7 separate regions of the Homo sapiens genome follow, and all the other regions are linked to region 3. Evidence: promoter capture Hi-C in 16 types of primary human blood cells and fetal thymus (Javierre and others, 2016). All regions are on one chromosome and are shown on one strand. Each heading gives the region's core, a stretch centred on a gene start or on the middle of the fragment in contact. The rest is flanking DNA. Distances are from core to core; before and after follow the strand shown.

Region 1 (3,597 bases), core at 459-2,958, 510 kb after region 3:
TGTATGTCAGACATATGTCTGAAAACAGTATCACGAAGAAAGAGCCATCTTAAGCATGTGGCTCTGAACTTGGAATAACGGCACTAGCACCCAGCCCCACCCTCAGCCTACCGTGGGGCCCTGGGCAAGCCCCTTCAGCCTCTCCATGCCTCAGTTTCCCTTACTGTTCAACAGGCATAGTGGGAGCGCCTCCCTAACAGGGATGGGGAAAGGAGCCTGTGCACTGGAGTCCGAGGTGCCAGCATCCACCGCAGATCCACTCACCGAGGATCATGGAGCAGCGCTGGGCGGGTTCCTGGCCCGTGAGCAGCGTGAAGTGTTCGGGGTAGTAGAACTCCAGGGCTTCCAGGAAGGCCTCATAGCCCCTCTTGCCACGGCAGCGCAAGATGTCCATCAGGCGCCCTACAGAGTAGTGGGGGGATGTACCCAGGGTCTAGGGGAAGGCCTCCCCAGGTGCCTGGTTGCTTCTGCCCCCACCATGCTCCAGGCCCACGTTCCCCAGATTTTTGAGCCAGTGACACACACAGGGGCCTGTCCCAACACATCAGGGAAGAGAAGAGAGCCATTCTGCCACAGCCAGGGGAGCACATTCCCTCATGACTCCTGGGCTCCCAGAGCTCCCCAACACCCCCCACAGACACAGATGCCGGCCCGCAAATGCAGCCTGCCTTTTCAATGGCACAGAGAAGCCCCCTCTATCCCCAGAAGCAAAGAAAATACTTCTCCCATTGGCCATGCCTGAAATTCCACCATTAAAGACCATTCCATCATGCCTTTTTGAGTTCTGGTTCAAAGGCACACCCTGTGGGAGTGGGGACCCACGTAAAGCTGAGACGGATCTTGACACTTGAAAAAGGACTCCCCCAGGAGTGTATGGTGCACAGAGGAGGGGACAGACAGAACTCGGAGATCAAAGAGCGCAGGAAAGGTGCCAAGTCCACCGGCTGTGACCGGGAGGTCCCAGGCCCAGCCGGCCCTGGCAGCCACATCCAACCTTCTGCTCTAATGTGGACCCAGGAAGTGGGAGAGAACCCCAAGAGACAAAACTCTGACCCCGGTGTGGGCAACGCGGACCGCCAAGGCGCAGTGGTGGGTGGGGAGGAGGCAGGCTGGTGGGCATACCCAGCCGGCCCACTCTACTGATGCGGAGACCGAGCCCCAGGGCAGCAGAGCCCTAGCTTCGCGCTACACGGCTGTGGGCGCTGCGCCCCAGGGCACGGCCGGCCCAGGTCGTGGCCCACTCGGGACCCGCGGCTCACCGGTGCGGTTGACGCGGCACGGGAAGCGGTAGGTGCTCAGCACCTCCTCCTCGTCCTGCTCGTCGATGACCCGGCACTGGCGCAGATACGGCGTGAGCTTGGCCGGGTTCAGGGCGCGAGCCAGCCGATGCCGGACGCCCTCGATTCGCTCCCACAGCGCGTCCTCCTCCGCCTCAGACCCCGAGCCGGCCCCGGCCTCCTCCTCGGCCTCCCCCGCCTCCGCCCGGCCCGGCATGGCCGTGTCCTCAGGGTCTGCGGGCAAGAGGCGCACGGGGGTCGACCAGGGCTCCCTAGGGCTAGATGTGCGGCCAAGCACCCCCGGGGCGTCGTCCGCAGACCCGCCGTCGGGGGCGCGCCCCGAGCTCCCCGCGACTCACCCCGCACGCTACAGTCGCCTCGGGCTCCCGGGTCCGCACTCGGGCGGCGGCTCCGCCGGCGCAGGGGGGCGGTGCCCGTGGCGCCCCCGGCTCCGCCCCCGTCCCCGCAGCCTCCTGGGCTGCCCGGGCCTCCCCACATTGCCGCCCGCCCCGGGTCGTGCGTCCGGCCCCCGGCCACCCCGCGCGTCCGTCTGCACGCCCTCCCTCCCGGCCGTCCGGCTGCGCCTCCCCCTGCTTCCTGTTTCCCGCCGGCTCTCCAGCCCGGCTCGGCGGGGTCCTGGCCGCCCGCCCACACCTGCCCGGCCTCTGGGCGGGGCGGGGGCGGGCAGGCGCGCTCACACCCCCCGCGCGCCGCGACACACCTTCCCCGGGCCACGCGCATCGCCTCCCCACGCCCACAGCGCGCCCGCCCGTGCGGGGCTAGCCGCTCACGCCCGGCGCAGCCCGCGGGCACTCAAGCTGGGCTTGCCCTTCTCGGGTCCCCACATGCACTGCGGGCGCGGGAGCTTCCCTGGAGCGCAGGACAGCCCCGCGGGGGACAGCAATGGGCAGAGGTCATGGGGGCTTTCTGCAAGATGGGGGTCTGAACCTGCAGGGCAGCACTGCCAACTCCCCTCTTACGCAAACTCCCGTGGCACTTGAGGACCAGGGACCCCACAATTCTCAAAGGGTATTCCTCCAGGTGTTGGTCCCAGAGATGCTGGGGGCGGGCTGTGACTAGCCATCCATACTCCCGCTCCTGCCTGGGAGGCCGGTGGTGTCTTACCATGATACTGGCCGAGTCTACACGGTATCTGCTGGTGCATGCGATACAGTCTCGCTATGCATTAGAAGCTGCCAGGTACCTGCTGCCAGGGAGGAACAGAGGAGGCACAACCGGTACAGGAAAGAGGTGTGAGCTCCCTAATCGCCTTCCACAACTTCTGAATTAGATGCCGTGGACATATGTATTACTTATCCAAAGAATTAAGGTTTCAATCAATAAAGGCTCTGAAAAGCCCTGCTTAAATTAAGGCCGGGGGCGGTGGCTCATGCCTGGAATCCCGACACTTTGGGAGACCGAGGCGAGTGGATCACCTGAGGTCAGGAGTTCGAGACCAGCCTGACCAATATGGCGAAACCCCATCTCTACTAAAAATATAAAAATTAGCTAGACGTGGTAGTGCGCGTCTGTAATCCCAGCTACTCGGGAGGCTGAGGCACGAGAATCGCTTGAACCCAGGAGGCGGAGGTTGCAGTGATATCGTGCCACTGCACTCCAGCAGCCCGGGCAACAGAATGAGACTCCCCCTCAAAAAAAAAAAAAAAAAAAAAAAAAGCCCCAGCAGTAAAGAAACAGATTTAACTTTATATATCCTGGTGTCCTTTTCCAAACTTAATTAACCACAGCCTTTTTTTGGTTTGCATTTGTTGTACATTTGTTTTTGTTTTGGGTGTCACCTGTTTACATGCAGAAGAAATGCTTTGGGAGAACTGAATTCTAGTGCAAATTCCTCAATTAACAAAGGAGGAAGCAGAGCTCAGAGAGGGCAAGGAACTTGCCCAAATTCACACAGCGAGGCCACAATGGGAATAGGCCGGAGCCCAGCCCCTGGCCTCTGTCCTCTCCAAGCCCCGAGTCCAGGCACACACCAGACCTCCCTTTCAATACGTCCTTCCCCTCTCTGTGGCCTTGGTTGCCCTCCCACGCAGAGCGGCAGCTCCTCCCACCAGCAGCCCTACTCCTCGTGAATATTTTTAACTTGGCCAGCAGAGCGGGATGGACGCCTTGGAAAATGAGGCTATGGTTAATTATTTTTTCATCGAGAAGCTAAGCAGGGCCTAAAGATAAGGCACAGAAGCCAAGAGGTCTCTGCAGATAAGTGGACAGAGAAGTGAGGGCACACTGGGTCTGAACAGGCAGGTAGCTGGGTACACCGAGTGCCCCTGGTGCCCAGCATTCCAGGGGAAGCGACAGAGTT
Region 2 (3,200 bases), core at 36-2,535, 410 kb before region 3:
TAGATTATTTAGAAATACATGTGTATGTGGCAAAACTGTAAAGTCAAGCAAGGGAATGATAAACATCAAGTTTAAGAGTGTTTGCAGCTGGGCGTGGTGGCTCACACCTGTAATCCCTGCACTTTGGGAGGTGGAGGTGGGAGGATCGCATGAGCCCAGGAGTTCCAACCCAGCCTGGGCAACATGGCGAAATCCTGTCTCTACAAAAAAATAAAAAATTAGCCAAGCATGGTGGTGCACACCTGTAGTCCCAGCTACTCGGGATGCTGAGGCAGGAGGACTGCTAGAGCCTGGGAGGTTGAGGCTGCAGTGAGCCATGATCATGCTACTGCACTCCAGTTTGTGTGACAGAGGAAGACCCTGTCTCAAAGAAAAAAAAAAGAATGTTTTCTTGAGATAGGGTAGGGCACACAACTGCTTCAATGTCCTAGGAATGCTCTATTTTTTAACTTCGTAATGAGTGCATAGGCACTCTTCATTTTATTGTTATTCTTTATTCCCTGCTGTGACAGAGGCTGTTTCCAAATATGTCTTGTTCTTTTCAAGTTTTGCCTGGACATATGGCTTCCCAGAACGTAGGCTTTAGTTCCCAGCCTCGCTTGCAGCTGGAGGTGGTCATGTGACAAAGTTCTGGCCAATGGGATGTGAGTGGAAATGATGGGAACAACTTGGGAGGAATGGCCTTTAGGGCATGGGATGTGCCCTTCTCAGTCCTTTCCTCTTGGCAAGTGGACTAAGGAGCTCCAGCCGCCATCTTGGTCAATGAGACAATCTTGAGAATGGAGAGCTGCATGATGGTAGAATAAGATAAAGGGTATCTGAGCCACACTCCCATGGAGTGTTATACCAGTCTTGGATAACTTATCTCCAGAGCTGTGCAACGAGAAAGAAATAAACTATCAACTATCTTTATTTTCTTACTTTTAATTTTTTTAGAGACAGGTTCTTGCTTTGTCACCCAGATTGGAGTGCAGTGGCATGATCATAGCTCACTGTGACCTCGAACTCTTGGGCTTAAATGATCCTCCTGCCTCAGTCTCCTGAGTAGCTGGGACTACAGGTGCATGCCACCACACCCGTCCTGTCTTTTTAATTTTAGGTAAATAAACCAAAAAAACAAAAAAAAAAATGCGGGAAACTTTATAGCCAAGCCTAATCCTAATGAACATAACCTGTACAAGTTAAAATAGTCTTTAAAAAAGCTTGATTTTTAAATTTGTTTTTTTTTTTTTGATACGGAGTCTTGCTCTGTTGCCAAGGCTGGAGTGCAGTGGTGTGATCTTGGCTCACTGCAAACTCTGCCTCCCGAGTTCAAGCGATTCTTGTGCCTCAGCCTCCTGAGTAGTTGGAATTACAGACACGCACCACCAAGCTTGGCTAACTTTTGTATTTTTGGTAGAGATGGAGTTTTACTATGTTGGCCAGGCTGGTCTGGAACTCCCAACCTCAGGTGATCTGCCCGCCCTGGCCTCCCTAAGTGCTGAGATTATAGGCATGAACCACCGCTCCCGGCCTAAAATTTTTTTTAAGTGCATTTTATTGTGTATACTTTAAGGTATCCAACATGATGTTGTATGATTACATATATACAGCAAAATGGTTGCTATAGTGGAAAAACTAACACATCCATCATCTCACATAGTACCCAGTTTTTCCCTGTGTGCCAGGAGCAGCTATAATCTCATTTAGCAAAAATCCTGAATACAATACAATATTATTAACAATAGTCCCCATGTTGTACATTAGAGCTCTGGACTTGTTCACCCTGTATATTTGCTACTTTGAATCCTTTGACCTATATCTCTCCATTTCTTCCCTCTCACCCCAGATCTTGGTAACCACTGTTTTATTCTCTATCTCTACATACTTGATATTTGACTTTTTTTTTTGGTAAAGATTCCACATATGAGTGGAGTCATAAAATAGTTTTCTTCCTGTGTCTGGCTTATTTCACTTAGCGTATTGTCCTCCAGTTTCATGCATGTTGTGGCAAATGACAGATCTCTCCCTTTTTAAAGGCTGAATCAGAAATAATATTCCATTGTATGTAAACACCACAGTTTCTTTATTCATTCATCCATTGATGGACATCTAGATTGTTTCCATATTTTGGCTATTGTGAGTATTGCTGCAATGAACATGGGAGTGTAGATACCTTTTTTATTTTTTATTTTTTTTTGGGACAGGGTCTCCCTTTGTTGCCTAGGCTGGAGTGCAATGGCACACTCTTGGCTCACTGCAACCTTCGCCTCCTGGGTTCAAGCGATTCTCATGCTTCAGGCTCCCAAATTACAGGCGCCTGCCACTACGCCTGGCTAATTTTTGTATTTTTAGTAGAGAGAGGGTTTCGCCATGTGGGCCAGGCTGGTCTCGAACTCCTGACCTTGTGATCCATGCGCCTCGGCCTCCTGAAGGGCTGAGATTACAAGCGTGAGCCACTGCGCCTGGGGAGTGTAGGTATCATTACAAGGTGGTGATTTCATTTCCTTTGGGTATATACCAGAAGACATATTGCTGGGTCATATGGGAGTTCTATTTTTATTTTTTTTTGAGGAAACTCCATACTATTTTCCATAATGGTGGCATCAACCTACATTCCCACCTAACAGTGTGCGAGGATTCCCTTTTCTCCACACCCTCGCCGACACTCGTTATCTCATGTCTTTTGATAATAGCTCTCCTAACGGGTGAGAAGTGGTATCTCACAGTCATTTTGATTGGCACTTCCCTGAAGATTAGTGACGTTGGACACTTTTCCATTTACCTATTGGCCATTTTAATGTCATCTTTGGAGAAATGCCTATTAAAGTCCTCTGCTCATTTTTAAATTGTGTTATACATTTTCTTGCTATTGAGTTGTATGTGTTCTTTATAAATCTTGGATATTGAGACTTTAGTTTAAACAAGAATATATGTTTAAAAACTCAGATATTAACCCTTATCTAATATATGGTTTGCAAATGTGTTTCCCAATCTGTACATTGCCCTTTCATTTTGTTGTTTGTTAAAATAGTCTTTTATATGTATTTATTATTAAACACATTCTAAAAATATATATATATATATTTTTTGAGACAGAATCTTGCTCTGTCACCCAGGCTGGAGTGCAGTGGTGCGATCTCGGCTCTCTGCAACCTTTGCCTCCTAGGTTCAAGCGATTCTCTTGCCTCAGCTAGCCGAGTAGCTGGGATTACAGGCAC
Region 3 (3,516 bases), core at 507-3,006:
AACAGGAGCCTCAGTTAAAAAGGGGTGTGACTTTTGTTCAATGGAGTGAACCCCTGTAAGTTTTACTGTTGAGAAAATAACATCAGCAAAATGTTGGCAACTTCGGGTAAAAGGGATAGAGACAGTACAAAATGAAAAGATACCATTGAACAAAAAATAAAAATAAAAAAGACAAGTCAGAGAGTGGATGCAAGAGTCCAGAAGGCAGAGCTGAGAGCCATGGAGAATTATCCCCAGGCCTTGAAACCTAATCAAGGAATGTCCAACATTTGTGTGGCTGGATTTCAAAACCGCTATGGAACATTGACTCCATGTCTCCATTTTCCTCAATTTTGAATAGGAATGTCACTAGTTCTTATCCTATGCCTATCACATCACTGTATGTTAGGTGTGTTCAGGGCAAATTACTTAGTTTCACAGATCTATGATGGGGAAGAATTGAATCTGAGAAGCTGTACTTAAGGAACGACACTGGAGGAGCCTCAGCCACACCTGGAGCTGATTTATATGACCAGATTCTAGCTTTTAAACTGATGCTTTAATAGGATGAGAATTTTAAAGATCTTAGGAGGGGATGACTATATTTTGCATGTGGAAGGGATGTACATTATTGGGGGCCAGAGGGCAGAGAGTGGCAGGCAGTTGACATGGCTCCCAATGATCCCTGTTTCTTGGTATAATTCTCTCCCCTTTGGTGTGGACTGGACATAGTGATGAATGGAATGTGGCAAAAATGAGGGATGTTGCATCCATGATGAACTTATAAGAGACTACAACTTCTGTCTTTTTCACACACTCTCTGCAGCTCTCCTCAGCTCATCTTCTCTGACAGAAGCCAGTTTCCCTGTTGTGAGATGCCCTATGGAGAGGTCCACAGGGCAAGGAACTCAGAGTGGCCTCTTGCCAACAGCTCCAGAGTAGCTGGATCCTGCCATGTGAATGGGTTCCTTCTCTGGTCGAGCTTTGAGATGAGACTAGAGACCCAAGCAACACCTTGATTGCAGCCTGTGAGAGACCCTGGGACAGAAAAATCACCAACACTCCACCGGTATTCCCAACTCACAGAAACTGTGAGATAGTAAATGTTGTCTTAAGCCCACTAAGTTTTGGGGTGATTTGTTGTGCAGCAAGAGATAACTAACACAAGTCCATGTCAAGCATTCTCACATCTGGTAAATTAGTCTGGTCTTCACAAATACCCAGTAAGGTGTTCGGAGACACTACTAATTTATCTTCTTTCACAGATGGAGAAAATGAGGCTCCGAAAAGACACAGGACTTCACCAGGTGGGGCTAAAATTAAATTGCACATCTTCAAGCTAGGTGAAGTTCAAGTTAGCTCCAAGTTTTCTTTCTCCTCCTATCCCCAGCCACCAACCTGACGTGCCCACGGCAGCTCTGTACGTCCCAGTGCACTGCCAGTCCACAGCAGTCTGGACGGGCTACAATGGAAGTGTGGACTCACTTCCAGTTTCTGACCCAGAGAGAGAGATCCCAAGAGACTTTGGTCAAAGAGGGCGGGAAGGTAAGTCCAGTCTAGGCAGTCTTCACTCACAAGCAACTCTGAATGGGGAGAAGGAAGATGAAACCCCATGTCCTGGAAGAACCCTGGCCCTTCATAAGTCTCTGCCTCACCTCTCCAATCTCTTTCATAACAGCAGGAAACACGTGAACCACACTGATGTGTGCTGAAGCCCAGAAGTGCAGATCCCCACTGCAGAACTACTGGTGAAGACCAATGGATGGTTGCTGGGAAGTGGCCCTCCCCAAGATGTTCATTGGAGTTGCCATGGTGATCACTATACACAGGGCTCTGTTACCTCAGAGGGCTGATAGGCCCACCCGTAGGGAAAAGAGGCCAGGAGAAAGCCAGGATTGAGGCCAGGAAAAGGCAGGAGGGGCTTCAATTATTGTTCACTCTCTCATCCACTCTAGAATGTCAGTTGAGCCCCCACTACATGCCAGGTGTGCCAGGCACAGGGGGCTCAGATGCTACCAAGTGCAAAAGATGTTCTTGGGAGCTCAAAGCACTAAGTAGGGAGAAGAACTAGCTCTGTGTAGGAAAAAGGAGGAAGGACTTATGAAAGAGCCATTTGAGTTGGATCTTGAAGGATGCCTAGGAACTTAACAGTTTTGAAGGGATGAGAATATTAAAGGCATGGATGTGTATAACAGCATAAATGTAGGTCGAGGTCAATGGGGAAGGAGAAAGATGCATCTGGAGCTGTCTGATTTGGACACCCAGGGATCAGGGACCTGGGAGTAAAACTAAAGGAAGGGTCCTCTCTCCTATTCCTAAACAACAAGGGCTACAGAAGGAGATCAACAAAATTAAGTGACTTCTTTTCTGCAGAGAAGAAGGAGGCAGAAGTCATTGGTGCCAGCACTGGCCCATTCCTGTCTGGCTGTTGCTCAGCCTGGACAAAGAGTGGGTATAGTGAACGCCTCCTGCAAGCCCAGCCTTTCAGGATTTCCCCAGGAAACAGAGAGTGCTGTGGTTAAACTTGGAGTCCCCAGAATCTGGGCCTGTCACTTATTAGATAAGAGACTGGCCAAGTCCTTTAGCTGAACTTCCTTCACATGTGAAACAGATATCACCCAACACTAAGGATAAGGGTGATGGGCGAATAAAACAATTTTTTGCAAAATGTAGCACATTGCCTTGCACAGAGAGAGACATCACAAAACTCTAAGCTACTTCCGCAAGCAACCCATCAGCAAGTCCTTCGAAGTACACTAGATTTGGATGCCTTCGTCCACCTCCACAACTCCCCCTACTCCCTGGTCCAAGCCACCCTCATCTCTTGCCTAAGTATTATCTATTGCTGCACGACAATCTTGCCATAAACTTCGAAGCTTAACATACAACTGTTATCTCACAGTTTCTTTGGGTCGGGTGTCTACTCATGGCTTAGCTGAGTTCTCTGCATTGGGGTCTTAGCAGGCTACAATCCAAGTATTGGCCAGGGCTGCAGTCTCATCTGAGGTTCCACTAGGGAAGAATATGCTTCCAAGCTCATGTGGCTGTGGGAGGATTCAGTTCCTTGCAGTCTGTTAGACTGAGGGTCTCAGGCTCTCTCTGGCTGTCAGCCAGAGGCCATCCTCAGTTCCTTGCTATGTGGGCCCCCCAACACCAACATGACACTGACTTCATCAAAGCCAGCAAAGAGGGAGTCCCCTTGCAAGATGGGGCATTACAATGTTGTGTACCATAGTCACAGAAGTGGCATCCATCACCTTTGCCGTAGGCTGTTGGTTAAAAGCAAGTCACGGGTCCCACCCGCAGTGAAAGGGAGAGGGTCACACGGGGCATGAACACGAGGGGGCAGATAATATGGGGACCACCCTGGAGTCCACCATATCCTCTGACAGTCTTCTCACTCAACAGCCCAGCAATCCTGTTAAGACCTATATTAGATCATATGTCACCCCTCTAAACAAAACCTTCCAGCTCAACCACAGTAAAAGCTGACATCCTCCCATTTATCTGCAAGGCCCTACCCAACCTGTCCACCAT
Region 4 (3,503 bases), core at 153-2,652, 440 kb after region 3:
GGTGAACACACCTGCACATACAGAGAGGTGTGGCATACAAAGCACGCACTCAGACCCTCCGCCCCCGCAGCCCAGCACACATGCAGGAATACAGCCGTAAGAGGCGAGGGCCTCGTTACAGCCTCACATTTCACAGCTCACAGCCACGCCATTCCCCTCTACAACCCGCCCTGGGAGGCTGGCTGGGATGGGCTGGGCTGGGCTGAAGCCCTCGTTTTACAGATGAGGAGACTGAGATCTAGAGAAGGGACTTGCCCAGCATCCTCCCCAGGGGTCCTTCCTCCCAACCCACCTCACTCCAAGGTACAAAGGGGCTGCAGGCCCAAGAGAACTGAGGAAGGAAAGTGAGAGGCACAGGCGCTGGTGGCCCCAAAGCTTCTGAGGCAAGGTCCCCTCCCTGAAAGCAGGGCCCTTGGTGACCTGGCAGAGAACAGGGCAGGACAGGTGACCCAGTGGGGGCACAGGCGGGGGCCGGGCAGGAGCAGGCGGTGGAGCTGGGCACCAAGGCCCTCTCTGCTCTCCAGGGAGCCATGATGGATGGCTGCCTCCCAGCCAGCGTGCTCACTCCTGCTCCCAGGGCTGCCCCATAAATCAGCTCCCTCATCTCTGCCGTGGCTGTTCCTTGATCGCTTTTCAGCATCGAGGGGAGAGGGGGAAGTTCACCATCCCTAGCGGCAGGAGGGGGCTAGCAGCGAGGATCATAAAATTAATAGAAAGCTTTTCTCTTCCCCTTTTTGCCTTCTCTCAGCTTCCAGCTTTCTGCCAGCCTCTACCCCTCTCTGGCTGGGTCTCACTAAATACTGAGTGAGGAAATAGGACCTGAGGCGTGGATGAATCTCCGAGACATCTAGCACTGTGTGTCTCTGTCGCAGCCTCAGCCACGGGGTTTCCTAGCAGCCCCCAAAGACAAGGAGAGGAAGCAGGAAGGTGTCCTTCCTGGTCCGAGCAGATCTCAAGTAGCTCTGGAAGGAGGCCAGGAAAGGGCCTTGAGTGCTAGGGACCCCTTTTAGAGATCAGCCTTTTGGAGCCCCCCACCCCTTGGAGAAGCTGATGAAGGCTGTGGGTGTCTGTGAAGGCCCTGGGAACTCGACGCCACACAGCGCAGCAGTCAGTAGTTCAGCCTCTGCGGCCAGCCTCCCCAGTCCAATTTCAGGCTCTGCCCCATAGTAGCTGTTTCACCATGGGCAAGCTGCTTCCCCTCTCTGTGCCTCAGTTTCCTCATGTGCAAAGCAGGGTGAGTTACAGGACCTGCATCCTAATCAACAGATACATATTCTTTAGAAGAGTCACTGGGGATTATAGAGTTAAATGCTCTAAATATTATCAAGTGTTATCATTATTAAAGACACTGGCTCTCAGATCTTCGTGTTCATTCGCTGGAGGCTTTTCAAACCCTGATTGCTGCCCCCTGAGTTCCTGTCTCAGTAGGCCTGGAGAAGGGCCCAAGGTTGCATTTCTAACAAGTTACTGGCTGATGCTGGGACACTGGTCCAGGGGCCACACTCAGAACCCACTAGAGCCCATGTTGGTGTCGCTGATCCAGCTCAGCCCCCTCACCACTCTACATCTTAAGAACTGAGGCCCAGAAAGGTGAGCTTGTGCCCAAGGCCACACCCAGTAAGGGTGGCCTAGGCCTCAGTCTACCACGGGGAGGGGTTCTCAGCAGGAAGTCGGAGGAGGGGATCTGGAGGTGGAGGCGGCTCCATCATGGCCACCACCCGCCCTCCTTCCTCCCCGATTCCCCCCAAACCAGCTCCAAGAGCAAAGAGGCAGAATTTGCCTTCCTGGCCAGAGGTAATCTTTTAATCTCTTTGGCTTTAATCTTGCAGCCCAACATAAACCCAAATCTGTACAGGGGAAGGAAGGGGGTGGGAGATACAGATCTCCTTTCCTGGGGAGGGGGTAATCTAGGCTTTGCCTTTCACTTTGCCACAGATCTCCCATACCATTTCCACCTTCCCCACTCCTGCTTCTGGGAGCACTGGGCTGGGAGGCAGATCCAATAGGGCATGAGGAGGCAGAGAGAGCAGCCAGATGGGGTGAGGCAAGGGAGATTCACTTGTTAAAAGGAATCCACTTTGATAGGCAAAGCTTGCTTAAACAAGACATGAAAAGCATTAGACATAAAAGGAAAAAATTACAAATTGGGCTTCCTTACAATTAAAAACTTATGTTCAGCAAAATACACCATCAAGAGAAAGAAAAATCAATCCACACATGCAGAAAAGATATTTCAGTACATATATCTGAGAAAGGACTAGTAGCCAGCATAAATAAAGGACTCCTACAAATCAATAAGAAAAAAAAACAATTTTTAAGTGGGCAAAAGATATGAACAGGCACTTCACAAAAGAGAGTATCAAAATGCTCAATATATACTTGAAAAAGACACCAACCATGAGCAAGCAGCAGAGATACACAACTTGAAATTACCTCAAGCTGTCATTCACACTCGCCAGACTGGCAACATTTAAAAGAACAAAAACATCAAATGTTGGAAGGATGAGGATCAACTTTCTTATACAGTGAGTGGGAGTGTAAATGGTTCAGCCACTTTGAAAAACTGTTTGGCAGTTTCTTCCTGCTATGGTTTGAAGGTATGTGTCCCCTCCAAAATTCATAGTTGTCAATATGAGAGGACTAAGAAATGAGACCTTTAGGAGGTGAGGAAGCCATGAGGGTGGAGCCCTTCTGGATGGGAATCATGCTTTTATAGAGGAGGTTCAAGGGAACTGTTTGTCCCTTTTTGTCCCTTCCACCATGTGAGGATGTAATAAGAAAGCCCAGGCCCTCACCTGACACTGAATTTGCAGGCATCTTGATCTTGGACTTCCCAGCCTCCAGAACTATGGGAAATACATTTCTCTTATATGAATTACCCCATCTCAGATATTTTGTTGTAGCAAGAGGAAGGGACTAAGACGCTGAAAAAAACTAAATAAACACCTATTCTATAACCTAACCATTCCACTCCTAGGTATTTACACAAGATAAATGAAAGCAGGCCAGACACTGCGGCTCACACCTGTAATCCCAGCACTTTGGGAGGCCAAGGCACAAGGATCACTTGAGGCCAGGTGTTTGAAATCAGCCTAGTCAACAGAGTAAGATCCCATCTCCACAAAAGAAACGTAAAAAGAAATTAGCTGGGTGTGGTGGTATGCGCCTGTAGTTCCAGCTACTCAGGAGGCTGAGGTGGGAGGATCGTTTGAGCCCAGGAGGTCGAGGCTGCAGTGAGCCAAGATTGTGCCACTTGTCACTGCACTCCAGCCTAGGCAACAGAGTGAGACCCTGCCTCAAAAAAAGAAGAAGAAAAAGAAGAAATGAAAGCATATGTGTACACAATGAATGCAAATTCTCACTGACTAATTTTAGTCCCAAACAGAAAACAACCCAAATGTCCATCAACAGGTGAATGAATAAACAAATTCTGGTCTATCCCCACAGTGGAGTTCCAGTCAGTGATAAAAAAAAAAAAAAAAAAAAAAAAAAAAGGATCAATT
Region 5 (3,347 bases), core at 807-3,306, 390 kb after region 3:
TCTAGGGCTCCCTGCAGCCCCAGGGCTAGAGCCTAAGCTCCTTCTTGGTGGGTGACCACCAACACGGTGAACTCCTACCAGCTTCAGCTCGGGCATCACCGCCTCCAGGAAGCCTTCCTTGAATCCCTGGTCTGGCTTCACCACTCCACTCCACAGCACCCCCATGCTCACCAGCTCCAAGTGGCATCCCACTGAAGGGTCACTGTGTCCCCTCCAGAGGGCCAGGAAGCACGGCGTGCCCCTCTGTGCCCCCTCAGTGCCCCCAGTGAGAAGCCTGGCATGGAGAAGGCACCCAGGGAGTGAAAATTGAAAACACAAAAGAACAACATAGGCCCCCAGGCATGTAATTCCCAGCTGGCATCCGTCTCCACTCGCTCACCCCCACCCACGCTGAGTGTGCCCATTATTATGACTGATGACAGCCAGGCCTCCCAGCTCCTTCTGGCTGCTGTGACCATCAGGAAGCCGTCCAGTACGATGGCTCCCATGCTGGCCCTGCCCACAGGACAGTCTGGTCAGACGGGTGCAGAGGGACAGGGAAAGGAGGGGGAACGTGGACAGAGCCCCTGCTGGAAGCCTCGCCTAGACCCCAAGGTCAGCTGACTCTGCTGGCCTTGTGGGAGCCCCGCGTGACCTTCTTATGTGGGGACGTGGGGCTCTCACTTCCAAATGAGGAAACTGAGGCTCCAAGAGCAAGCAGCCGACCTGAACCCAGAGATCGGCATTGGTCTCCTGCCCACTTCTTCTTACATTGGATCCAGGAGCTTCCTAAGCACAAGGAGGGGAACGAGCTACCGGGCTGGGCATTTTACAGGCGTTCTGGGAGGCTGTGGGCACCCGGGAAAGAACACCAAGTCTGGGGTCCTCATAACCTGGACTCAGACCCTTGCTCGGTTCCCCTCAGCTGTGTGGCCTCGGCAGCCCGCGCAGCTTCTCTGAGCGGACGTCTGCACTGGTCCCTGGGGGTGCGAGGCTGCCCTGCAGGGTTGCTGTGTCAAATGAGACGGTAAGGACACAGCCAATAACAGCCGAACATCTTCCAGGCCACGCTGCGGGTGGATTATTGCATCTAATCCTCACAGTGACTCTGGGAGGCTGAGTCTAACAGGGTCCCCATTTGATAGACAATGAAGGTGCCAGGGTCAAACGCCTTACCCAGAGCCAGGCAGCTGTGGGCGGTGGAGCTAGCGCTCAGGCCTGGGTAGACCGTGCCGGGCACATGGAGGGCCTCACTAAACAACATTATTTTTTGACTCCAACCTGCCCTTTATTCCTCAAAGGCCCCTGAATATACTGGCCTCCAGCCTGGCCTCTCCCTCCTGCAAGCCTTCGTAGGGACTGTTCCAGCCACCTGCCGTGCCTCTCCTTCCACTTCCAGAAAGCAAACCTCTCACCCTTTACATTCTCATCAAATGCTACCTCTTCCACTGAGCCGCCCTGGGCTCCACCACCCCACTCCTGTCCGGCCCCTTCCCCCTACCCCAGTAAAGCCCCCCAGCACAGCAGTCTCCTAACTGACTGTCGCCTACCCTGCCTCAGCCCATCCTCTGCACAGCAGCCCAAGGAAGCCTCCCGCAGCGCACTCACATCGCCGCCCTGCTCTAAAGCCTCTGGCGCCTCCCCAGCTCCTCTGCTCCACAGTTTAGGCCCCTCATGATCTGGCTTGGCTCTGTCTCTGCAATGTGCCCTCCAATACCATCAAGACAAACTGCTCCCCGCTTCACACACGCAGGCGTGCACACACACGCATCTACACATGTCATGTGTGCACACATGTGCACACATGTACACCTCTCCAGCTGGTGCGGGATCTCCTAGGCTCCTCCCTTGCTTGGGCCTCTACTTCCACTCCTGCCTTACCCACCTTCCCACCTCCAGCCCAACCCCAGAACAGCACCTCCAAGAAACACCCCCTGTAATTCCTCAGCTCCCCTACCAGCTCCTTCCTGGAACACAGCATCCACCTGGCCTGTTCCCAAACACATACATGCTCCCTGCTGCTGGAAGACACAGCGTCCAGCCTTTTCCTGGCCCGGAGGGAGCTCAGGGGCCTCTGGTGTCCTCCCCAGACTCCTGGATCCTCCCTCCCCACTCCCAGGGATGGGCACGTGAGCTTCTTACCCCTCTCTGAACTCGGAGAGGCTTTTTGCAGCTCTTGGCCTTTCCCCTTGAGATTCCCCGGCCTGGAGTACCCTCCTGTCCCATCCCCGCCCAGTGAGTGCTACTTCTCAGGCAGGACTCAAAGCTGCCTCCTACAGGAAGCCTTCCAGCCCACCAGGCCTCAGCCACCCTGTAAGGACTGGCTGGCAAGTCTGCCCCTGTGTGGGCTTCCTGAGGGCAGGGACTCTTTTCATGCCCAGGCCCATACTGGCTCCTTGAGAACTGTCTGCTGAGGAAACATGCTCCCTCCTGTGCCACCCCTGAGTGCCTGGAGGCACAGCAAGCAAGTTGATCAGACCACGGAGACCACCGGCCCACCTCTCCCACCTCCACCGACCACGGGGACCACCAGCCCACCTCTCCCACCTCCACCGACCACGGGGACCACCGGCCCACCTCTCCCACCTCCACCGACCACGGGGACCACCAGCCCACCTCTCCCACCTCCACCGACCACGGGGACCACCAGCCCACCTCTCCCACCTCCACCGACCACGGGGACCATCAGCCCACCTCTCCCACCCCCACTGAGCCCCCTGCGTCGCACACCTGGGCCACCGGCCTCTGCCCTCACCGGCTGCTGGCTCCCATGAGATTGGAATAGTATCCAAAATCTTCCCAGACTTCACTTCTTCACCTCCCACCTCACTCACTTGCTCCAGCCACCACCTCCCCGCCATGGCCGCCTTGCTCCTCCTGGTAAATGAAAGAAGGAAGGGCTTGCAGAGCTTGACCACGTGCTTCCTCAGCACCCACTGAACCCTCAAACCAGCATCATTCGCAAAGGACAGAGGAGGAAACTGAGGCACAGAGAAGGGAAACAACTGCCCAAAGCCAGGCTGCTGCAGGGTGAGGCCTGCAACCACCCCCTCCCTGCCTCCAAAGGCCAAGCCCTCCACGTCCCCAGCCCATGCAGCAGGTCCCTAGGAAACCGGGAGGGGCAAGGGAGTGCAAGGGAGAAGAATGTAAGGAAAGGCGGGGTTATTATCCTCCCAGGTCAGGGGCCTCAACCACCCTCCACTCCACTCAGAGATGCTGACCCACCCCCTCGTGTCTACCCCCATCCCACCCCACTCCGGTCCAATCAGACTTCACCTTCTGTCCACAGGCCGACTCCCACTGTGGACAGAGAGCTGCCCCCACTGACACGGGCCTGGGGGTAGCAGCAGGGGCAGTTGTCCCCTCCC
Region 6 (3,277 bases), core at 556-3,055, 430 kb before region 3:
CAGTACAATTTGCAAGTGCAAAATTGTGGAACCAACCCAAATACCTATCCATCAATGAGTGGATAAAGACTGTGGTATAAATATGATGGAATACTACTCAGCAATAAAAAGGAATGACTAATGGCATTTGCAGCAACCTGGGTGAGATCGGAGACTATTATTCTAAGTGAAGTAACTCAGGAATGGAAAACCAAACATTATATGTTCTCACTCATAAGTGGGAGCTAACCTACGAGGATGCAAAGGCATAAGAATGATAGAATGGACTCTGGGGATTCAGGGGGAAAGGGTGGGGAGAGGATGAGGTATAAAAGGCTACAAATTGGGTTCATTGTGTCCTGCTTGGATGATGGGTGCACCACAATCTCACAAATCACCACTGAAGAACTAACTCATGTAACCAAACACCACCTGTTCCCCAACAACCTCTGGAAATAAAAAATTAAAAAAAAAAACACTCCAAAATGCCTCTGTGTGTGCGTGTGTGTGTGTGTGTGTATGTGTGTGTGTGTGTGAGAGAGAGAGAGTCAGAAAGACCTCAAAGAAGAAAGAGGAGAACAAAGATGGTGGGTGAGAAATAGAAAGAGAAGTCAAACGCTATGGTTTGGAGCATGGGTTCCAGATGCAGCCCGCTTGGGGTCTCCTCCTGGACCCCCACTGGCTCTGTAGCCTCTGTGCCTTGCCTTTCCCATCTGTGTGATGGGGACACTGATCATCTCACCCTCATAGGGTGGTTGTGAAGATGAATTAAGATAATGTTTCAAGTGTCAGGCCTGGCACATCGTCAAGTGTTCAATGAACGTGTGCTATATATAATAGCACATGAAAAGCATTTTGAGAGCCCAGGGAGCTAACTTGGGGAGTACCATCTGTGCAGGATGCCGGATACATCCCTGCTTCCTGCTGTCAGTAGAGATTGGTGACCAGTCGCACAGGCTCAGGAGAAAGGCTGCCGGAGTCCATCTTCCTAGCTGTGACCTGGTCCCCCGGGGGCCTCTGCTGCCCCCTCTGCCATATGGAGATCACAAGCACACTTAGCTCACAGGGTGCTATGAGGAGTAACTGAGTACACACACTTGAAGCAATGAGAATAATGTCTGGTATGCGAGGAGCACCAGCAAATCGTGCTCATCATTCCAGCGGAGCAAATTGTTGCTGTCTCTCACCGGGCTTTGGGTTACTGAGGCTGCTATTTATTAAAGTGTGGGTTGTGACTCATTACTAGGTCATGAAATCGGTGTAGTGGTAGCAACCAGCCCTTAAAGAAATGAACCGGGGCCGGGCGCGGTGGTTCACACCTGTAATCCCAGCACTTTGGGAGGCCGAGGCGGGTGGATCACGAGGTCAAGAGATCGAGACCATCCTGGCCAACATGGTGAAACCCGGTCTCTACTAAAAATACAAAAATGAGCCAGGCGTGGTGGCGCAGGCCCGTAGTCCCACCTACTTGGGAGGCTGAGGCAGGAGACTCGCTTGAACCGGGGAGGCGGAGGTTGCAGTGAGCCGAGATCATGCCACCGCGCTCCAGTCTGGCGACAGAGTGAGACTCCGTCTTGGAAAAAAAAAAAAAAAAAAAAGAAATGAACTAGGACAGAATAGAAACTGCCGGCCAGTGTGCGTTCAGGAAGGCTGGGTGGCTTTTGGGGAACATTTTGCTCTGGTTCTGCAGATGTGAGTGAGTACAAGTGGCAGCTTAGATGTTTCCTAACCATGGGGTGGGGTCACAATAGTTTTAGCCGCACTGGTTGTGATGACTTCTGGAGGGGATGTCTCTCAGAAGCCCCCTCATGGCAATGTTTTCTAGAAGGGGCTGAGAGCCCTGGGCAGTGGACAGGTAGCAGGATAATGGACCTGGATAATGCTCCCAGGGTGCAGTCCCAGAAAGTGTGCCGGGCTGGGGCAGGTCATTTTCCCTCTTGGGCCTCCGTTTTTCCCTCATCTGTAAAATGGGAGGGTGGGGCTGGGTGATCCTAAGCTAGGATGATGGGCTGGGTGCGGTAGCTCACACCTGTCATCCCAGCACTTTGGGAGGCCAAGGCTGGCAGATCACTTGAGGTGAGGAGTTTGAGACCAACCTGGCCAACATGGTGAAACCCCGTCTCTACTAAAAAAAAATACAAAAAATTAGCTGGGTGTGATGGCGTGCACCTGTAATCCCAGCTACTGAGACAGAAGAATTGCTTGAACCCAGGAGGCGGAGGTTGCAGTGAGCCGAGATGGCACCACTGCACTCCAGCCTGGGTGACAGAGCGAGACTCAATCTCAAAAAAAAAAAAAAAGCCGGAATGATGGATCATTACACTTCTAAAACTCTAGGCGGGTGAAGCCTGGTGGACGCCCCTCATGCTGTTCCACTGGGGCTCTGGGGAGACCTAAAAAAGCACTGTTCACGGGAGGCTCAGAGAAGTTGTGTAACTTGCCAAAGGTCACAGAGTGGAGCACCCCTTGAATTCAGGCCCTTTTATTCTAAGTAACAACCTCGGGTTTTGACACCTGGTCTCCCCACACTTCCCTGGCTCATGTTCCCTGGTGGGACTGGTGGAGGTGGGGAGAGAGGGGCAATGGGAAGGAGGGACACTGTCTGAGGCCAGGAAGGGTGGCTCTGGCCCAGGTTGACACCCAATATCCTCCTCTGACCTCATTCTGGGAAGAGGGTGAACATGCCAGCTGCCCTAGGGCGGGCGGTACCTTGTTTATTCACTTAGCAAACCTCTCCTGGGTCTGATCCTGGGAAAGGCCCTGTGCTGGAGGGGGTGGATGGGTGGGAGGAGGACACTCTATTTGCAGCCACTCCTTGTGGTGTCCTCAAGCTGTTCACAGTCCGTGGGGAGAAGATTCCGTAACAGAAACCAAGATGAAACAGACCGGCAATAGAGTGGTCACCTCCCCGCACAGCAGCCTCGTCCTACATTCCCAGCCTCAGAGAAGGGCAGTAATGTTTGCCCCATCTGCCAGCCAGAACTCCTCGCCATCCACAAGACCTCTCTCTTACTTCTCCCATCCAGGCTGTCAGTAAAAGCTGCCAGCTCGACTGGGCATGATAGCTCACACCTGTAATCCCAGCACTTTGGGAAGCCGAGGTGGGTGGATCACCTGAGGTCAGGAGTTTGAGACCAGCCTGACCAACATGGTAAAAACCCGTCTCTACTAAATACAAAAAATTAGCTGGGCGTGGTGGCAGACACTTGTAATCCCAGCTACTTGGGAGGATGAGGCAGGAGAATCACTTGAACCCAGGAGGTGGAGGTTGCAGTGAGCTGAGATCATACCACTGCAC
Region 7 (3,313 bases), core at 101-2,600, 470 kb before region 3:
AAGTCTGTATTATCCAGGATCGAGCTGTTTTACCATGGGAAAGCCCATCAGAGTACCCAACCCTCCATATGGCCAGAAAGAACAACTCTGTCTGAATACACGAGTTTCAGGGGCTGCTTGTGCCTTCACTCATTAGGGTTAAAACATGGTCTTAAAGCTGAAGGCCGCCTCTGACCTGACAGCTCCAAGTCCTGCGGACTCCTGCGCCCAGTAATCACCTCCATGGCGAAGCACTGTTCCTGCTCCCGCAGGCGGCTATAGGTCCACAGCAGGCTCTGAAAGTGCTCCCACAGCTGGACACGCTGCCCCAGGTCTGGGGGCCGCAGCCTGAGGGCAGAGCCAGAGAGGGCGGGAGAGACCACGAGAAAGCTGGTCTCTCCCACACCCAACAAAAGGACCAGAGTCCCAGCTCAGTGTTAGAGCCAGGTGAGCCCATGTGACCTGCCCACACAGCTGGGAAAGCGGGTCGGGTTTCTGGCCCAGCTCTAGCTGTGGAGTGGGGTGGGATAGGCACGGAGCCAGAAGGCAGGCAGCTGAGCAAATCACCTCACTCTTCAATCTCTGTCACACAAACACATGTCATATAAACCCAGCTAGAGAGAGCCAGGGTGGTGCTTAAGCTTCTCACACAGAGGCCACTGAACACAGAAAGGTCTGGTCTATCATCAGGGCCCTACACAGGGTTGCAGCCATCTCGGATGCTGGCAAGGTCTGCACTGGCCAATGTGGTTCATGTAACAGGCATCTACCACCTGCAGCATTTGCCACTGAAACCATGACCTATCTGGGCTAAAATGGCTCATGAAACAATGTTTGTGCATTTGAGAAATGCCTCGAGCATGTACAGCTTCCGCTGCAGGTCCCCCTCGCTCTTGGTGTGGTCGCCATTGATGGCAATGAACAGGCATTCTCCAAACAGGTGAAGGACATACAGGGAGTTGCTGTTTTCCATGGAGAAGCAGGTGTAGGTGTCCGAGAGCTTCTCCAGCATCGTCATGGAGGAGATGATGACCGGGGCTAGGAGGGGGCTGAGCTGGTCCTGTAGGGCAGGGAGCTCTTCTTCCTCATTCTCTGACTGCCCGAACTTCAGCTGGAGACTCTCTTCAAACTCCTCATCCGTCCAGTAGAAGAGGGCCTCTGTGCCCTCAATGGCCACCAAGATGCACTTCATCTTGGTAAGGAGCACAGTGGAGCGTCCAGACAGCCAGAGGTTCAGAAAGGGCTGCAGCAGACAGACTCTGTGACTGCCTCATCGGAGAGCAGCACAACATCCCTGGTCCTGCAAATGCGGATCGCGGCGTGCACAGCACCCCGCCTGCGGGACAGAAATGTTTTCTGAACTGAAAAAGGGGGACTACAGGTGCCTGCCAGGCCCTCCATATACATACATCCCCCTATGTCTGTGTCTAGAAGTGAGATACACCGTTATTTCTGTTTTCTGATTGGCCTTTTTAGTTTTTTGAGACAGAGTCTCCCTCTCTTACCCAGGCTGGAGTGCAGTGGCTCGATCTTGGCTCACTGCAACCTCTGCCTCCGGGGTTCAGGCAATTCTCCTGCCTCAGGCTCCGGAGTAGCTGGAATTACAGGCCTGCACCACCACGCCTGGCTAATTTTTGTATTTTTGGTAGAGACGGGGTTTGGCCATGTTGGCTAGGCTGTTCTCGAACTCCTAAACTCATGTTATCCACCCCCCCTCGGCCTCCCAAAGTGCTGGGATTACAGGTGTGAGCCACCGCAACTGGCCCATTGGCCTTTCTTGTTGTACTGTTCTGTCCCTTCCAGGTAAGACAGGTACATTTTCTAGTAGTAAGCTCCTGTGTCTTAAAAAAGAAAATAACATTCATTGAGTGCTTACTTTATGCCAGGCACTGTGCTATGGGCTTTATATAAATAATTTCCTCTCTGAAAAAAACAAAGACAACAAAAAAAATTACTTCTTTGATTCTTTTCTAAAAGTTCCTTGAAATTGCCATGGACCCTCCCATTCGTGCAGGTGGGGAGAAAGAAGCTCAGAGTCGTTGAGTACTTGGCCCAGTGAGTAAATGGTGGAGCCAGGATTTGTGAACAGTTTTGTGGACTCAGAAGCTTCCATCCCTTACAGGGGTGGTGAAGAAGGCCTTTCCGAGAGGCCCGAGAGGCCCCAAGGCAGAACCATCCAGCCAAGCCCACCCCAAATTCCTGTCCCACAGAAACCAAGAGAGATAATAAAAAGACGGTTGCAGGGTTGTCTCGCCCCTCCTCTGTCTCTTGCCTGCTCTCTCTAAGGAATTCAGAGCCTTCCCATCTTGAATACCAGCGGCAGCTCCAGAATTTCCCCGTGGGACAGGCTTACTGAGAGCCGTCTTGTGAAGGGGGTAGCCCTGGACTTGCCTGGGAGCTGTGTCTGTGTAGCAGGTACTCTGCTTTCAGGAGGATGCAGGTTTTGTTGGGGGAGAGTGTTCCAGGGACTGTGAGGGGACTGAGCCTGCTCCTGAAGCCATCTCCTTTTTATTTAATTTTATTTTTTTGAGACAGAGTCTCGCTGTGTTGCCTAGGCTGGAGTGCAGTGGCAAGATCTTGGCTCACTGCAACCTCCATCTCCCGGTTCAAATGATTCTCCTGCCTCAGCCTCCCGAGTAGCTGGGATTACAGGTGCCCGCCACCATGCCTGGCAAATTGTTGTATTTTTAGTAGAGATGAGGTTTCACCATGTTGGTCAGGCTGGTCTTGAACTCCTGACCTCAGGTGATCCACCTGACTTGGCCTTCGAAAGTGCTGGGATTACAGGCATGAGCCACTGCGCCCGAAGCCATCTCTTGGTAAAATACTGCTGAGCATTCAGACAGAACAGAATTAGGAGAAAGAGAAGGAACCAGCATTGATTTCTTCAACACACTGTGCTAGGTACCTCAGGCATTTCGATTATTCTAGGCTGTGAGTGAAGAGTTGTTGCCAGAATCTAAAGTGTGTTCTGAGAACTTGGCCAAATGTAGGGTGACCATATGACTTACCATTCAAATTTGGGACACTTTGGGGGTGACGAAGGGATTACTATCAATAATTATGCCCTGGGATTGTCTCACTTAAACTGGGAGGTATGGTCACCCTAGGCAGAAGGGAAGTAAAATGGTCCTCTGTTACTGATTATCTGTTGCTGTGTAACCAATCACACCAAAATTTAGTGGTTTAAAACAACAACAGTCTTTTTATTATATCTCTTAGTTTCTGTGGGTCAGGAATTGGGAGAGGGCTTGGCTGGGTGGTTCTGACCTGGGGTCTCTCATGCATTATAGTTTGGTGTGGGTGGAGCTTCTGTTTTTCTCTCTCTCCATTT

Evidence for each region. The method cuts DNA at HindIII sites, captures the fragments that hold promoters and counts their contacts. A CHiCAGO score of 5 or more calls a contact.
Region 1: a contact is called between the fragment with the promoter of CARD10 here and the fragment with the promoter of CIMIP4 in region 3, in 2 of 17 cell types (fetal thymus and activated CD4 T cells). The highest score is 6.3, in fetal thymus.
Region 2: a contact is called between a fragment that was not itself captured here and the fragment with the promoter of CIMIP4 in region 3, in 4 of 17 cell types (M0 macrophages, M1 macrophages, endothelial precursors and 1 more). The highest score is 6.5, in M0 macrophages.
Region 4: a fragment that was not itself captured here is called in contact with the fragment with the promoter of CIMIP4 in region 3 in 1 of 17 cell types (M1 macrophages); the score reaches 5.4 in M1 macrophages.
Region 5: a fragment that was not itself captured here is called in contact with the fragment with the promoter of CIMIP4 in region 3 in 1 of 17 cell types (naive CD8 T cells); the score reaches 5.4 in naive CD8 T cells.
Region 6: a fragment that was not itself captured here is called in contact with the fragment with the promoter of CIMIP4 in region 3 in 1 of 17 cell types (M0 macrophages); the score reaches 6.2 in M0 macrophages.
Region 7: a contact is called between a fragment that was not itself captured here and the fragment with the promoter of CIMIP4 in region 3, in 2 of 17 cell types (endothelial precursors and M0 macrophages). The highest score is 7.5, in endothelial precursors.

What each region holds. Positions count from the first base shown.
Region 1 is chr22:37,517,707-37,521,303 of GRCh38, forward strand. It overlaps CARD10 (caspase recruitment domain family member 10), which reads right to left and starts at 1,709. Exons shown (of 20, transcript NM_014550.4): 1 at 1,260-1,709; 2 at 265-402. The coding sequence starts at 1,494. The HindIII fragment of the contact is 26,549 bases long and covers 1-3,597 here.
Region 2 is chr22:36,599,333-36,602,532 of GRCh38, forward strand. All of the region lies in intron 1 of CACNG2 (calcium voltage-gated channel auxiliary subunit gamma 2), which reads right to left. Among named protein-coding and RNA genes, the nearest start is that of EIF3D, 72 kb to the left of the region's middle. The HindIII fragment of the contact is 170 bases long and covers 1,201-1,370 here.
Region 3 is chr22:37,006,095-37,009,610 of GRCh38, forward strand. CIMIP4 (ciliary microtubule inner protein 4) reads right to left here and starts at 1,757. Exons shown (of 6, transcript NM_001163857.2): 1 at 1,635-1,757. The HindIII fragment of the contact is 2,868 bases long and covers 1-2,853 here.
Region 4 is chr22:37,448,975-37,452,477 of GRCh38, forward strand. No RefSeq gene overlaps it. Among named protein-coding and RNA genes, the nearest start is that of ELFN2, 23 kb to the left of the region's middle. The HindIII fragment of the contact is 1,374 bases long and covers 716-2,089 here.
Region 5 is chr22:37,397,009-37,400,355 of GRCh38, forward strand. All of the region lies in intron 2 of ELFN2 (extracellular leucine rich repeat and fibronectin type III domain containing 2), which reads right to left. Among named protein-coding and RNA genes, the nearest start is that of ELFN2, 29 kb to the right of the region's middle. The HindIII fragment of the contact is 5,659 bases long and covers 1-3,347 here.
Region 6 is chr22:36,576,094-36,579,370 of GRCh38, forward strand. All of the region lies in intron 2 of CACNG2 (calcium voltage-gated channel auxiliary subunit gamma 2), which reads right to left. Among named protein-coding and RNA genes, the nearest start is that of EIF3D, 49 kb to the left of the region's middle. The HindIII fragment of the contact is 7,086 bases long and covers 1-3,277 here.
Region 7 is chr22:36,536,434-36,539,746 of GRCh38, forward strand. It overlaps the pseudogene LOC100500719. Among named protein-coding and RNA genes, the nearest start is that of EIF3D, 8.9 kb to the left of the region's middle. The HindIII fragment of the contact is 1,465 bases long and covers 619-2,083 here.